Linked DNA regions of Homo sapiens: regions 1 and 3 are each linked to region 2. The links are contacts of gene promoters, found by promoter capture Hi-C in blood cells and fetal thymus (Javierre and others, 2016). All regions are on one chromosome and are shown on one strand. Each heading gives the region's core, a stretch centred on a gene start or on the middle of the fragment in contact. The rest is flanking DNA. Distances are from core to core; before and after follow the strand shown.

Evidence for each region. The method cuts DNA at HindIII sites, captures the fragments that hold promoters and counts their contacts. A CHiCAGO score of 5 or more calls a contact.
Region 1: a contact is called between a fragment that was not itself captured here and the fragment with the promoter of CCND1 in region 2, in 2 of 17 cell types (endothelial precursors and M1 macrophages). The highest score is 5.7, in endothelial precursors.
Region 3: a fragment that was not itself captured here is called in contact with the fragment with the promoter of CCND1 in region 2 in 1 of 17 cell types (M1 macrophages); the score reaches 6.3 in M1 macrophages.

What each region holds. Positions count from the first base shown.
Region 1 is chr11:69,439,146-69,443,733 of GRCh38, reverse strand. All of the region lies in intron 1 of LINC02952 (long intergenic non-protein coding RNA 2952), which reads left to right. Among named protein-coding and RNA genes, the nearest start is that of LINC02952, 3.5 kb to the left of the region's middle. RefSeq lists a silencer at 75-164 and enhancers at 2,423-2,612, 4,186-4,588. The HindIII fragment of the contact is 1,470 bases long and covers 1,164-2,633 here.
Region 2 is chr11:69,638,656-69,642,869 of GRCh38, reverse strand. It overlaps CCND1 (cyclin D1), which reads right to left and starts at 1,714. Exons shown (of 5, transcript NM_053056.3): 1 at 1,359-1,714. The coding sequence starts at 1,556. RefSeq lists a silencer at 1-118 and enhancers at 741-1,443, 2,951-3,889, 3,890-4,214. The HindIII fragment of the contact is 14,749 bases long and covers 1-4,214 here.
Region 3 is chr11:69,464,667-69,469,056 of GRCh38, reverse strand. No RefSeq gene overlaps it. Among named protein-coding and RNA genes, the nearest start is that of LINC02747, 13 kb to the left of the region's middle. The HindIII fragment of the contact is 229 bases long and covers 2,966-3,194 here.

The sequences.
Region 1 (4,588 bases), core at 649-3,148, 200 kb after region 2:
CTTCCAGAAAGCCTGGCCTCTTCCGCAGCCTCTGGCCGGGGTCTTCCCTGCGAGGAGCCAGCGCCGCTCGAGCCGCAGCATGGCCCGGCAGAAGGCACGGCGGCCGTGATGGGGCTGGCGGGGCGCGGTGATAACCCGGGCTCCCCGCCCCCGCGCTTCCTCTCCGCTGCGCTTTCATGAATGGCCCCGCTTCCCAAACAGCCGATTGGCTGAACCCCCGGCCGCGACGCCCAATCAGCGGCTGTGGCCGCCTGGTCTCCGCTCCGCGTGGGGCCTCGGTCCTGCAGCCATGAATGGCGCAGCCTCAGCTGCCTGCAGCCACCGCCTACCTTGCGGGGGCCGCCTCCCCCCGAGGGAGGAGGAGCAGGGGATTTTTTCTTTCCCCCAGACTGTTCAGGGTTCTGGTGCAATTGTGTCAATCTGAGGCTTGGCTGGAGCTCCTGACAATAGCCCTTGGGCTTCCAAGGTTGACATTCAAGGTCTTGTGACAGTGAAAGGGCTTGCATAGTTAGAAATGAATTTCTTTGCCTATAGCCCGGGCTGATTCCAGTTCCAGGGAAAGAACGGCAGCCTTTCCGTGTAAGCAGGCAGCCCTGCTGGGGACAAAGACAGGGCCGTGGGAGGAGGTGGGGCCCCTTCCTGGCCAGTGCTGGGGGGGGCGGACACGTGCAAACTGCTGGGAACTTCGCCTGCAAACCAGAGGGCTTTGGCCACCCCTCTTGGTCACTGGCCTTGTCCTAGCTTCATATGCCACGTGCATGAAGCGGCTGGGGCCCCTGTCGGGGAACCCAGCCATTCCGCTGCATTTCCTGTTAAGTAGGAAAACATGTTCTGTTTGCTGATGTTATAAAGAAGGCATGTGTTTACAAATGCTCATTGGGGAGAGCGTGGTTAATGGGCCAGCTTCCGGCCTCACCTCCCCAGATGAAGTGATTGTGTGGCTGACAGAATGGGCCTGCTCTTCAGGGGAAGACCCCCTACTCGGGAAAATTAGACTCAGCAGAAGCCAGAATTCAAAGCTGTCTAGAAAGTGCTTTTGCAAGGTGGGTTGAGGCCAGGATGAGGAAGGCCTCGAATGCCAAAGTGAGGAGGTGTCCCAAGCCCTGGGGAGTCATGGAAGGCTGGTGAGATGCAGAGTGAGATTCCGGAGTGTTTCAGAAGCTTGACTCTTCCCCGGCAGGGACTTCTCTGCCAACACACCTACCCTGAGCATGGCTGGGGTGACCTTTTATGGAACTTCCAAATTAGAACTGTGCAAACAGCTTCCTGTGACCCCTTGATGAGCCCCATTTTAAAGATGAGAAAACTGAGGTTCAGAGTAATCTGCAAAGGGTCCCACAATTTGGGAGTGGCGAGACCAGGACTGGACCCTATCTCTGCCTGATGCCATAGGGGAAAGGCACACCCAGGTGCTGCACGCCCACAGGGACTGGTGTGAGGAGGCTTCAGCAAAAAAATGCGGGCAGATCACTAAACACTGGGGCAGGCACTGACTCATTGCTGCAGTGGTTAGGATCAGAACTGGTGAGAAATGTACCTGCTCCCAAATTTCTATGAGCCAGACTCTGGTCTCCCAGGTAGATTCGTGAGGCCATGAGTATGCAGCAGGGGGCGGCCTGACAAATTCATGTAGATTTCCAGTTGTAGCATCTATTTTTTTTTTCTTTTTTTTTGAGATGGAGTTTCGCTCTTGTTACCCAGGCTGGAGTGCAGTGGTGTGATCTCAGCTCACCGCAACCTCCGCCTCCCAGGCTCAAGTGATTCTCCTGCCTCAGCCTCCCAAGTAGCTGGGATTGCAGGCTTGCGCCATCACATCTGGCTAATTTCGTATTTTTAGTAGAGACGGGGTTTCTCCATGTTGGTCAGGCTGGTCTCAAACTCCTAACCTCAGGTGATCCGCCTGCCTTGAGATGGAGTCTCACTCTGTCGCCCAGGCTGGAGTGCAGTGGTGTGATCTCCATTCACTGCAACCTCCACCTCCTGGGTTCAAGCGATTCTTCTACCTCAGCCTCCTGAGTATCTGGGATTACAGGCATGCGCCACCACACCCAGCTAATTTTTGTATTTTTAGTAGAGACGGGGTTTCAACATGTTGGCCAGGCTGGTCTCAAACTCCTGACCTCAGTTGATCCACCCACCTCGGCCTCCTGGAGTTCTGGGATTACAGGCATGAGCCACCTTGCCTGGCCTGTAGCATCTATTTCTGCCAGCCTAATGCCCAGTATCTGTTTTTAACCTTCTAGTTCAGCAGTTTGTAAAATTTCTGGTCTTGGGACCCATTTGCCTCTTAAAAGTTATCGAGGACCCCAGAGAGATTTTGTTGATATGGGTTTTATCTACTGATATTTACTGAGTTAGAAATGAAAACATAGAAATTTGTAAAATGCATGATTCTGCAAGCATACATTCTGTTAGCTCTCAGAGTGACAGTGTCATCATGGGTCCTATGGCCTCTGGGAAACTCCACTGCACAGTCATGAGAGAATGAAGAGAGAATGAAAGGAAAAAAGACAATTCATGCCTCAGTGTCTTCATGAAATTAACTGCAACCTCTCAGACCTCCTGAAACCACACTTTGAGAACTGCTCTACAGAGAGCAGATTGAGCTGGGCGGCGGGTGCCTGGCGAAAGCTTCATTTCCCAGCCTTCTTGTGGCTAGGTCCGGCCATGCCATACCCTGGCTGAATGGACTGTGAGCCATCCTCCATGGTGCTGGGCAACATGATAGATCTGTGAGTGAAGGAGTCATTGCAGTGGCCACATCCTGCCTCTGACCAATGAGCTTTTCCCTTCTTCTCCGCCTTCCACAGGCTGGGGTATAAATGAGGCATGGGTCAATTTGGCCCTCGTAGACAGGGCAACCCTCAGGTGTGACAGAGCCTGGGTGACCAGTATCATGCTGCCATATTTGTTTTTTGTTTTTTGTTTGTTTGGTTTTTGTTGTTGTTGTTTTGGAGATGGAGTTTCGCTCTTGTTGCCCAGGCTAGAGTGCAATGGCGCGAACTCGGCTCACTGCAACCTCCGCCTCCCAGGTTCAAGCGATTCTCCTGCCTCAGCCTCCCAAGTAGCTGGGATTACAGGTGCCTGCCCCCACGCTCGGCTAATTTTTTGTATTTTTAGTAGAGATAAGGTTTCGCCATGTTGGCAGGCTGGCCTGGAACTCCTGACCTCAGGTAATTCACCTGCCTCAGCCGCCCAAAGTGCCGGGATTACAGGCGTGAGCCACCATGCCCAGCCCATGCTGCCATATTTGTCCTGGATTGACTATGTGGGCTCCTGTGGGAAAAAGAAATCAACAGCCAGGCTTCTGCTACTGTATTTTGCAGTCTTTGCTATAATAGCCTAACCAGAATCCTGATCAGTACATCATTCTTACACACCTGGCTTCCTGCTCTTATTATGCTTGCAAGAAGTTGGATGAACCATCCAGATAAGCCCTTGGGAGGAGCTGAGTCTTCAGATGGAAGCATGAGGTGGTGAAGCACCCCTGACAGATCATTCCTTTAACATGCGTTTATTGAGATATTCTTGCCATGAGTCCAACAGAGTCCAGGAGAGGAACATGAGGTCACAGCTGATGGGAGGAGGGGACGCTGGGATGGAGCTTGCCAGAGTGTCGGGGGCTGCCATACAAATCACCACACCCTGGGTGGTTTCCTACAGAAAGAGGCAGAAACGTACTCTTGCACAGTTCTGGAGGCTAGGAATGGAGATCCAGGTGTCAGCGGGGTTGGCGCCTCTGAGGGCTGTAAGGCAAAGAACCCATCCCTGGTTCCTCTCCTGGCTCTTCTGGTAGCTTCAGCCGCCCTTGGCGTTCCCTGGTTTGTGGCCTCATCGCTTCACCCTCTGCCTCCATCATCATGTGGCCTTGCTCTTCATGGGCCTCTCTGAGGAAAGCAAGAGGTGGGAGCAGTGGGCCTGGGCCGGGGTCAACAGCCAAGGTGTGGCCAAGGTCCACCCAAGGTCATTGGCTCCTTGCTCGGCCTCAAAGCCAGCTTGACGCAGCAGACCCTCTCCCCGGTCTCTCTTTGTCCTTTCTTCTTCTTATAAGGACACTTGTTATTGGATTTAGGGCCCACCCTAGTCCAGGATGATCTCATCTCAAGATCTTTTGCCTTCCCTGCATGCACAACGATTCCTTTTGCAAATAAGGTCACACTCACGGGTTTCCCTGGCCGTACTCTTTGGTGTTGCGGGGGCGAATGGGTGCAGCATTCAGCCACTCCAGGGCTCTAAGTAGGAGGGACAGGCAGAAGCCACCACCAGGACAACTGGAAGACTTCCTGGAGGAGGGGGTGCTAATTTGGGTCTTAAGGGGAGTCATTGCTGCGAGAAAGGGGAGTCCACGTGGGAAGCTCAGATGCAGGGAGGTGCAGGACCTTGGCAGGGTGTGGGGCCTCCAGGGGAAAGATGACAAGTGTGCTGGAGGCCTTGGGGGTGGAGGGCTGAGTGCCTCAGGATGAGGCTGGGAGGGCCAGGTGTGGGAGGTCTCAGGGCTTTGTTCTGCAGACAGCAGGAGCCAGCAGGGGCTCTAGGGCTGGGAGTGAGAGAGTTCCCTGCAGGACAAAGGTGGGCTAATGGATTCCCA
Region 2 (4,214 bases), core at 465-2,964:
GCGCGTCCCCAGTACCCACCCTCCCCGAAACTGAAAGGGAAAGTCCCCGCGAGGCTGGCACGGTGGGGGCGGGAGCGGGCACAGCTGGGCGGCGTGCGCGGCGGCGCGGGCTGCCGGCCCCCGGGACCCTGGCCCGCCCTGGAGCTCCGTGGTCCCTCTGACTGGGGGTCGACACCAACTGGGGTGCGGGGCCGCGGAACGGGCCGCGGGGTTGGGCGCCGCGCCTGCGAGACACAAAGGTGGCGTCCCAGGCCGCCGCGCCGCATTTCCCCAGACGTCATCTTTTCAAAAAATATTTAAAAATATTAAAAAAATAACTAAGTGCATAAAAAAACCCTGAAAATGACCCTCGGGCGACCCTTTACCCAGGCCGGGGGTTGGGAGTTCGTTACAGGCTCCGGGGGGAGCCCCAGGAATTCAAACTCCGGGGCCCCCCCTTCCCCCTGGGCGCGGGCGGCGTTTCCCTCTCGCAAGGGCACCACGCCGCACTTTCAAAAATTATTTTAAAATACTTGCGGGCCCCTCAGGCGCCCACCGAAGGTCTGAAAATGTGCTCCCAGGCCCCCGGCTCGCTCGGAGAAGGTCCTCCAAGCCGATATCCCTGCAGACGGGGATCAAGCCCTGGCGTCTTGGGGGCCACGCGACCTTGCAGCTCGCCGTGCTCTCCGGCCCAGGCTGCCCGTTCGGGGCGCCCCGGGACTCGCTGCTTGAACAAAGGCCCCCCCTTCCCTAGCGGCGTCCCCCCAAAACTACCCATGCCGCGTCCCTGCGCCCCTCCCGCGGGCTCCCGGCAGCCGCGCGGCCCTTAGCTGCGGCCCCAGCGCCCGGCGGCCGCTCCCCGCCCCCACCCTGCCCCCAATTATTAATAAACACTTTTGCTTTGCAATAAAAGAGCAAAGATGGCGCATAATACTGGCACGAGCGGCCCTTGCATACGTGTCCATGGATATTAATTTAAAAATCAAATCTATGCCCCCTCCCCCCGGAGTTGGCGGCTCCCGGCCGCTGAGGCGCAGCCGGGCTGGGGCGCAGGCGGGGGACACAAAGCGCACCCAGCCTGCCAGCCCGCACCCTCGGGCCCATTGGGGTGCCCCTGGCACTGGCTTCTCCCGAAGGCACCCCTCCCGGACCCCCTTCTCCCCTCCCACGAAACGCTACTTCTAGCACCCCCACCCCCACCCCTTCCTCCTTCAGAAAATACCCGCAATTTTTATTTTGAAAATACGGATCCCTAGAAACACCACGGCAAACTTCAAAGTTCTAGCGGGAGAGAAGGGAGGGGGGTGAGTAGCAAAGAAACGTGGGTCTGGGCAACAAGTTGCAGGGAAGTCTTAAGAGAGCCGCCCGAAGCCCCGCACCTCCAGCATCCAGGTGGCGACGATCTTCCGCATGGACGGCAGGACCTCCTTCTGCACACATTTGAAGTAGGACACCGAGGGCGCGCAGGTCTCCTCCGCCTTCAGCATGGCCCGCAGCACCCGGTCGTTGAGGAGGTTGGCATCGGGGTACGCGCGGCGGATGGTTTCCACTTCGCAGCACAGGAGCTGGTGTTCCATGGCTGGGGCTCTTCCTGGGCAGCTGGGGAGGGCTGTGGGTCCTGGCTGGGTCCGCGCTCGGCTCTCGCTTCTGCTGCCCCGCGCTCCCTCGCGCTCTTCTGCCCCTCGCCGGAGCGTGCGGACTCTGCTGCTCGCTGCTACTGCGCCGACAGCCCTCTGGAGGCTCCAGGACTTTGCAACTTCAACAAAACTCCCCTGTAGTCCGTGTGACGTTACTGTTGTTAAGCAAAGATCAAAGCCCGGCAGAGAATGGGAGCGGGAGGGGGGCGGGGGCGGGCGCAGGGGGAGGGGGCGCGGGCGCCAAACGCCGGGAGCAGCGAGGGGCAGAGCCCAAAAGCCATCCCTGAGGCGCCGCGCCTGCCCTGCGGCGGAGTTGCCCCTGTAGTCCGGTTTTCATAGAAATGCAAATCGCCCCGCTGCAGCCTTTCTCCCCGCCAGGGAAGAGGGGTGCAGGGGGCCCCGTCCGCCTCGAGTGGGTCCCCCGGGATTTAGGGGGTGAGGTGGAGGTGGCTCTGCAGTAGGGGACAACTAGGAAGGCCGGCAGGCCACACGCAGCCTGGGGAGACCACGAGAAGGGGTGACTGGGGCGCGGCGACACCCCATATCCAAGCCGGCAGAATGGGCGCATTTCCAAGAACGCCACGAGGGCACCCACGGGCGGACAGACGGCCAAAGAATCTCAGCGACTGCATCTTCTTTCATTTTCATTAACACGTGTAAATTGCAAGAACTAATTTAGCATGCAAGGACGGGGAGGACCGGGCACACAACCCCTGTGCAAGTTTCATTCCGGCGCACAGGGGCGTCGTTGCAAATGCCCAAGGGGGTAACCCTAAAAGTTAAAGGGATTTCAGCTTAGCATGCGCTCGCTCAAAAAATAAAATAAAATAAATGCCCGAAAATTCCAGCAGCAGCCCAAGATGGTGGCCAGCATTTCCTTCATCTTGTCCTTCTAGCCTGGAGACTCTTCGGGCTGCCTTCCTACCTTGACCAGTCGGTCCTTGCGGGGGTCCCCAACTGCACCCCCTCCCTTCCCGTGCCGGCAATTTAACCGGGAGAAACACACCTCTGAATGGAAAGCTGAGAAACAGTGATCTCCATTCTGACTCATTTTTTTTAATTAAAAAAGAAATTAAATTGCTGGAAATATTAGTCCCCTCTGCCTGGGACAAGACCACCGAAGGTTCCTAATTGGTTTTGTTGGGGGTGTAGACGTCCCTTCACCTTTAGAATTTGCCCTGGGACTGAATTCGTGAGCGTGAGGGGGCTGGCAGGAGCCGGCATAATTCAGAACAATTATCAATTAAACAAACGAGTGTACTGATCTGATTTTTAGCAAAATCGATAGGTGTTCGTGGTTACATGAGAGGGTCCCCAATATTATCGCAAACTTAAGCAGATGTAAATTAAAATACACAGTTTTTAAAATTACAGGTTCTGTCTCTTTGGTGCATTAAAAAATAAAAGGACATTTTACTGTCTTAACTTTTGTTTTTATTTTTACAGTACCTGCCCCAAATTAAGAAAACTGTTCATTTACTTCCTTTTGAATATAGTTCAGTGTCATCAAACCACCGTACCCTCTTAACAGTAAAAGCTCAAAGAAAACTGATAGAAAAAGCCCTCTCCCCTTCGCCAGGGTGCTCACAGCAAGATGCGACCCCCCCCACCCCCACCTTTCAGGGTGAATTCCTCCCGCGCCCCCTCCCCCGCCGGGAATTAGGATTACTAATATTCCGGGTCCTGGGGGGGTAATTACCCCCGGATTCCGCATGGGGAGCGATGGGTTGCCCCAGCAGGGAGCACCTACGGTCGTGCCCCCCCCCACTCCCCGAGCACCCACAATCGCGTTGGCCCCCGCATAGCCAAGCCTCAGAGCATCAGCCCGCGCACAAGGGCGGCCCAGCTGCTTTTTCATTCATAAAATCCCGACCCGGCGGCCGCCTGGATGATTTATGGGGCCCGGAGCTATCACCCGGCCTCTCCCATCCCGTGGGGCGAGGGGCCCCGAGCCCCGCGTGCGCCCTGGCCCAGCCCGAGGCGCGAAGCGGGCCGAAGTCGGCTAGGGGCAGCAGGGCATAAAGAGGCTCGCCCACTCCGGCACAACCGGCTCTGGGTCCAGGAGGGAGCTTCACCCCCCCATCCCGGGCGCAAGACAGAGGAAACTGGAATTAGCATGAGCCAATGGGGGCGCGGCGCTGTTACTAGGCGGACCGGGCAGATCTCGACTAGGAACTTCGTTGATTTCCCGGCTCAGGGACGAGCGCAAAATTGCAAGCCCGGTTAGCGAGCGTAAAGAGCCGTCCAGGAACCCGCGGGGGAGGCGCTGGAATTTGGGGCCCGGCGCTGGAATTTGGGGCCCGGCGGGGAGCGCCAGCTGCCCAGCCCCCACCTGGGGGAACCCTGCTTGGCGGCCCCCGGGTCCCCCGAGGGGGCCAATACCTCTGGGCTTTTGAGGGTCATTGCTTCAAGAAGCGCAGAGAAAGCATTTTGATTTTATTTTTTCCAAAGAGAAAAGCAACTTTAAAAAACTTTTCGGTTGCAGTTTTACTTTACACTGTCTTCTTAAAACCCACCACGAAGCAGGAACTGCGGATTCTGGGCTCATTTAAAGTGCTCTGTTCTTATTTCTTGGTGACCATTTGGAGACAAAGGGCA
Region 3 (4,390 bases), core at 1,831-4,330, 180 kb after region 2:
CATCAATGGCATCCCGTTTCAAGTAGAATAAAATCAACCTGCTTTTCATGTCTGCTCCTGCCAAGGCCTTCTCCCTCCTTCCCTTCCCCACCGGGCTCCAGCCACTCCACCATGCTTGGTCCCACCTCAGGCAGGCCCTGGCCGCCCAGAGTGTCTCAGGAGGCCACATTCCCCTGCTTGAGGCCTCAGCCCCAATAAAACCACCTTGCACTGAGGTTCCTGTGGGTTTTCTGCAGCTGGTCTGCCTGGCTTCAACTTCCCAGGCTACCCCTTATGAGCTGTGGGACCCTGGGCAGGTCACCTTGGCTCTCTGTGACTTAGCTTCCTCCTCTGTGGAATGGGGGAAATAACAGAACTTTCTCCTGCGGTGAGGATGAAAATGGCTTTGACACATTCAAGGTACTGAGTTTGTGCTTAGGAAACACTAACCGCTATGACTCCGTGACCACCCTGTCACCTTGTACCCCATTTTTCTATCCTATTACAGGTTTACGCACTTCCTGTCTGTCTCCTCTATGAGAATGGAGTCTGCGGCAGACACTGTATCTACTCAGTTCACCGCCTCATTCCAAGCACCTAGCACAGCGCCTGGCCCACAGTGGATGCGCAAGAAACCCATGGAATGAATGAATAAATGAATGAACGAGTGGACAAACCACTTCCCCAATACCTAGCTCAGTGCACGGCCTATGACCAGTGCGGGCCAATGCTCGCTAAATATGACCTATTAGTAAATCAGTGAAACTGCTCTTGCTGTAAGGAATTCTGTGCCCTTTGTCCTGGCTACTCCCGGAGCCCTGTCTTGCAGAGGACACCCAGGTGGGTCTTTTGCCCAATTTGTACTTGGCTCTGCTGGCTTTGACATGAAGACCACCACCTTCCAGAAACGCCTCATTTTCTTGGCAGCACCTTCCCCCCATCCTTCCCACCTCTAGCTGCTTCTTCCCAGTGCCCTCTCTCCTCTCTTCTGTCTGTGTTTGGGTCAATGTTCTAGTACCAGGGCAGAATGAGAATCTGGGTGGTGAGGTCAGGGCTGACGGCTTTCTTCAGGTCTAGAAGCTGAGACCAGCTCCCCTGAAATGTACACATCCCAGTGTCTGTCCGCCTGGGTCCTGGCAATGTGCCCACCTGGGCTCCAGGGCCCAGCCTCTGAGACTCCTCGGGGCCTCCCTGAAGGGCGGCTCTGACCCTGGCCTCTAACTCACCTTGCTTTGCTGACTCTCTAGATAAGGCCCCTCTGATCAGAAGCTCATTTTCATAAACCACAGCCACACTCCCTAACCCCACCGCACCGCCTACTCACGTAGGTCTCATGTCTTCCTAGACACCTTGACGCCTGGGCTGGATAATTCCTGCAATGGCCACTTTCCTTATTCATACATTGCAAGTTTCTTCCGTGGCATAGGTGGTCTTTGCTTCTTGGTCTCCTGTTATTGACTATTGTCCTATCATCCGGTCCTGGAAAACCCCAGGGGGAAGATGAGGATATGCTGTTTGTCCTGACCTTCCCTCGGCCTTTCTCTCTGCGTGAGGATTAGCCACAGGCATCCGCAAGGCAAAGGGTGCTTCTAAGGTGCTTGCATCCTAATCCTAATGAGAACCACTGTGCATGAGTGACCTTCCAGCAGAGCCAGCGAGAGGTGTTCTGCCCTGCCCTTCCCTAACCTGTGCCTGACATCACTTTCCCTGGCACTGAGCTGGATGTCCCCACTCCTCCCCAGGTCCCCAGCCCTCTCTCTTCCCTTCTCTCCACCAAAAGGCTAAAAAGATAAACTGCCTAAAGGCAAGGTTCCATTCACTTTTGCTTTAGCTTTTGTCAACTTTGGCAAACAATTGCACAGTGTCTCCTGGTTGTTCTGATGTCGTCTTTGTTCCCACTGAATTTGGTTTCTCCTCCAGGGCTCAGGTAAGATTGCACTCCTCACCAGCTCTGAGAGTGGGTGTGGTCACGGGACTTTTTTGACCAAGGGGGTGCAAGTGAAAGCAGTGTGTGTATCTTCTGGATGGAACTTTAAGAGCCAGTAAATGTTCACTCCTTCCACTGTCCCTGGTCCTCCTGAGATCTTAGAGCCCAGGCTGAGATTGAGCCTCCGAAAGCCTCTGCTCTAGACTGATGGGAAGAAAGGCCTGGGACTCTCACTTGCCACGGAGCGTGAGCAAAAAACAGACATTGTGGTTTAAGTCACTCAGCTTTGGGGAGGATGCTTTTTACTGTGGCATAACCCAGCCTATTCACCAGGCCTCTGCTGGCTGCCTGCATTTCTTAGTTTTTCCATTGTTTTTTTTTCTTGTCCTTTGTCCTTTTCTGTTGATTTATAGTATTTTTTTCCTTATATTAAAAATATTAAGTCTTATTAATGGAATTATTTTGTCACCAGCTGAAAATCTCCTTAAACAGGTGATTGGACCTAGGATTGGACTACTGCCAGAAAGAATGGCATAGATTCAATTGTTCCAAAACGTGAATTGTCATTTTTAGTAAACCTCTTTCAACATTTAGCCAACACAGCGCTAACAAGTCTGATTCGACTCATTGGGTTACCTGCGGGTACATGTTTCAGCTACTTTATCTCCAAGGTTCCTTCAGGAAGCCTCTGTATCCAAAGCTTGGTGTTCTGCTTCTGTTGGCCCCTAGAGCTCCTTAATTAATGATTTTTTTTTTTTTAATAATCAGGTTTGGCTGAAATTATTACAGCAGCCTTTCTCAATGAATAGGCTGTAGAACACAGTGCCATGAAACCAGCTCCTGAAAAACACTAGATCTGGAAAATAGGGTTTCATGGCCCAGAGTTTGGGGAACCGGGCACGAGAGCTGAGTCAGCATCTTTGGCTGTGAAAAATCTCTGCTTAATGTTGGCTGCCACGGGCTCCACAGCCTCTTTGCCATGGCATATCTTCTGGCGTGCCACTGACTCACACCATCATGAAATGAGCGCCATGCAGAACACAATCTTGGGGAAAAGCTTATCTAAGGAATAAAATTACAGGTCCAGATCACTTATATAACTGGCGCTTAGAAGAAGAGCCCACCCACATTATTTTTTGAGGACCCCCATGGCTGATGGTGAACCCCTGCTCTGAGGTGGGTGGCTTCCCTTCAGCCCCACGGCTTGTTGGGGGGCACCCTCCACCCAGCTGTCGCCTTGGGGTAAGGCTCCCCACGGAGCCACCCGAACTCGCTGCTGCTGGAAGCTTGCCAAACTGCGAGTCCTGCGCTTTGCCGGGAGGACAGGTAATCCACCTCCCCGGGAGTCAGTGTTCTCTAACTTGGCTGCACACGAGAATCACCTGGAGAGCCTGAAAAACTTTTCATGCCCAGACCGCACCCCGGACAGATTAGGTCAGAACTGGGGGTGGAACCCAGCGCCCAGTAACTTTGTAAACTCCCAGGTGATTGCAGCTTGCAGCCAAGTCTGAGCACCAGGCTCCAAGTGGGTGCTTCTGTAACTTAGTTCCAACTGGAAGGAGGGCAGGAGCGGGGGACGGGGACTTTGCAGAATCTTGTGGGATTCTGCAAAGTCCCCATCCCCATGGGAGTTGCAAGGTTTGGATTCCACTATGCCTCACCCTCGAAGCTGTGCTCAAGCCTCTTCAGGCGCAGCCACCAGACAGCTGCAGGCCCCTCTACCTCAGCTTATCCCTTGCAGGGGGCCTGAGCCAACCTCTTGTCCCCAGGGATGCTATGATTAAAATGGGCCAGAGGCATCCCTGTGTGTGTGCTGGGACACTGTCCAGTTGCTATTCATGCTGACACTGTCAACATGATCCTGATAAGAAGTTCCTCTTCTTTTTCAGAAGTAGCTGTAGCCCAGTGTCTCCCAGCAGCTTGTTAGTTTTATCCCATGCTCCTTGTAAATTCAAAGGCAGGGTGTGTTTTCCTTTTCACATTGGCTGCCGGGGAACTCAGAGTCAATTTTACTACTACATCACACAGTACACATTGAGGACTTAGGGCATATATTTTGACTTCTGCTTCATCTTATGTTTTCCTCACCTACTAAAAATCACATTGTATTGTGTGCATTTTTGTAATTTTGTAAGCCTCCTAGAATCTTCTTTTTGTGACAAAGTAGGTACGTAAAGTCACAAATCCACAAATAAAAGACAGGCTTCTTTTCTCTAGTTGCTCTTTGGTTGCAGAGTTGTTAGCTCCTCTCTCTTTGCATACGGCGCTGCTCCGGCCCCACCCATCACCCACTCAGCAGTGGCTCCAGCACAGCTCCATCTCCCACAGCCCCTGGCTGGGCCTCCCGGTGGTCTGTGGGCTCCTGGTCCCATCACATGGAGGACTTCACCCTGCCCTCTCCCCAGTCCTCCCTCTTTCGGAAACCTTTCCTGGTGAGACTTGCTGCCAGGTAGAGCCACACCTATGTTGTTTCATGGCTTAGTG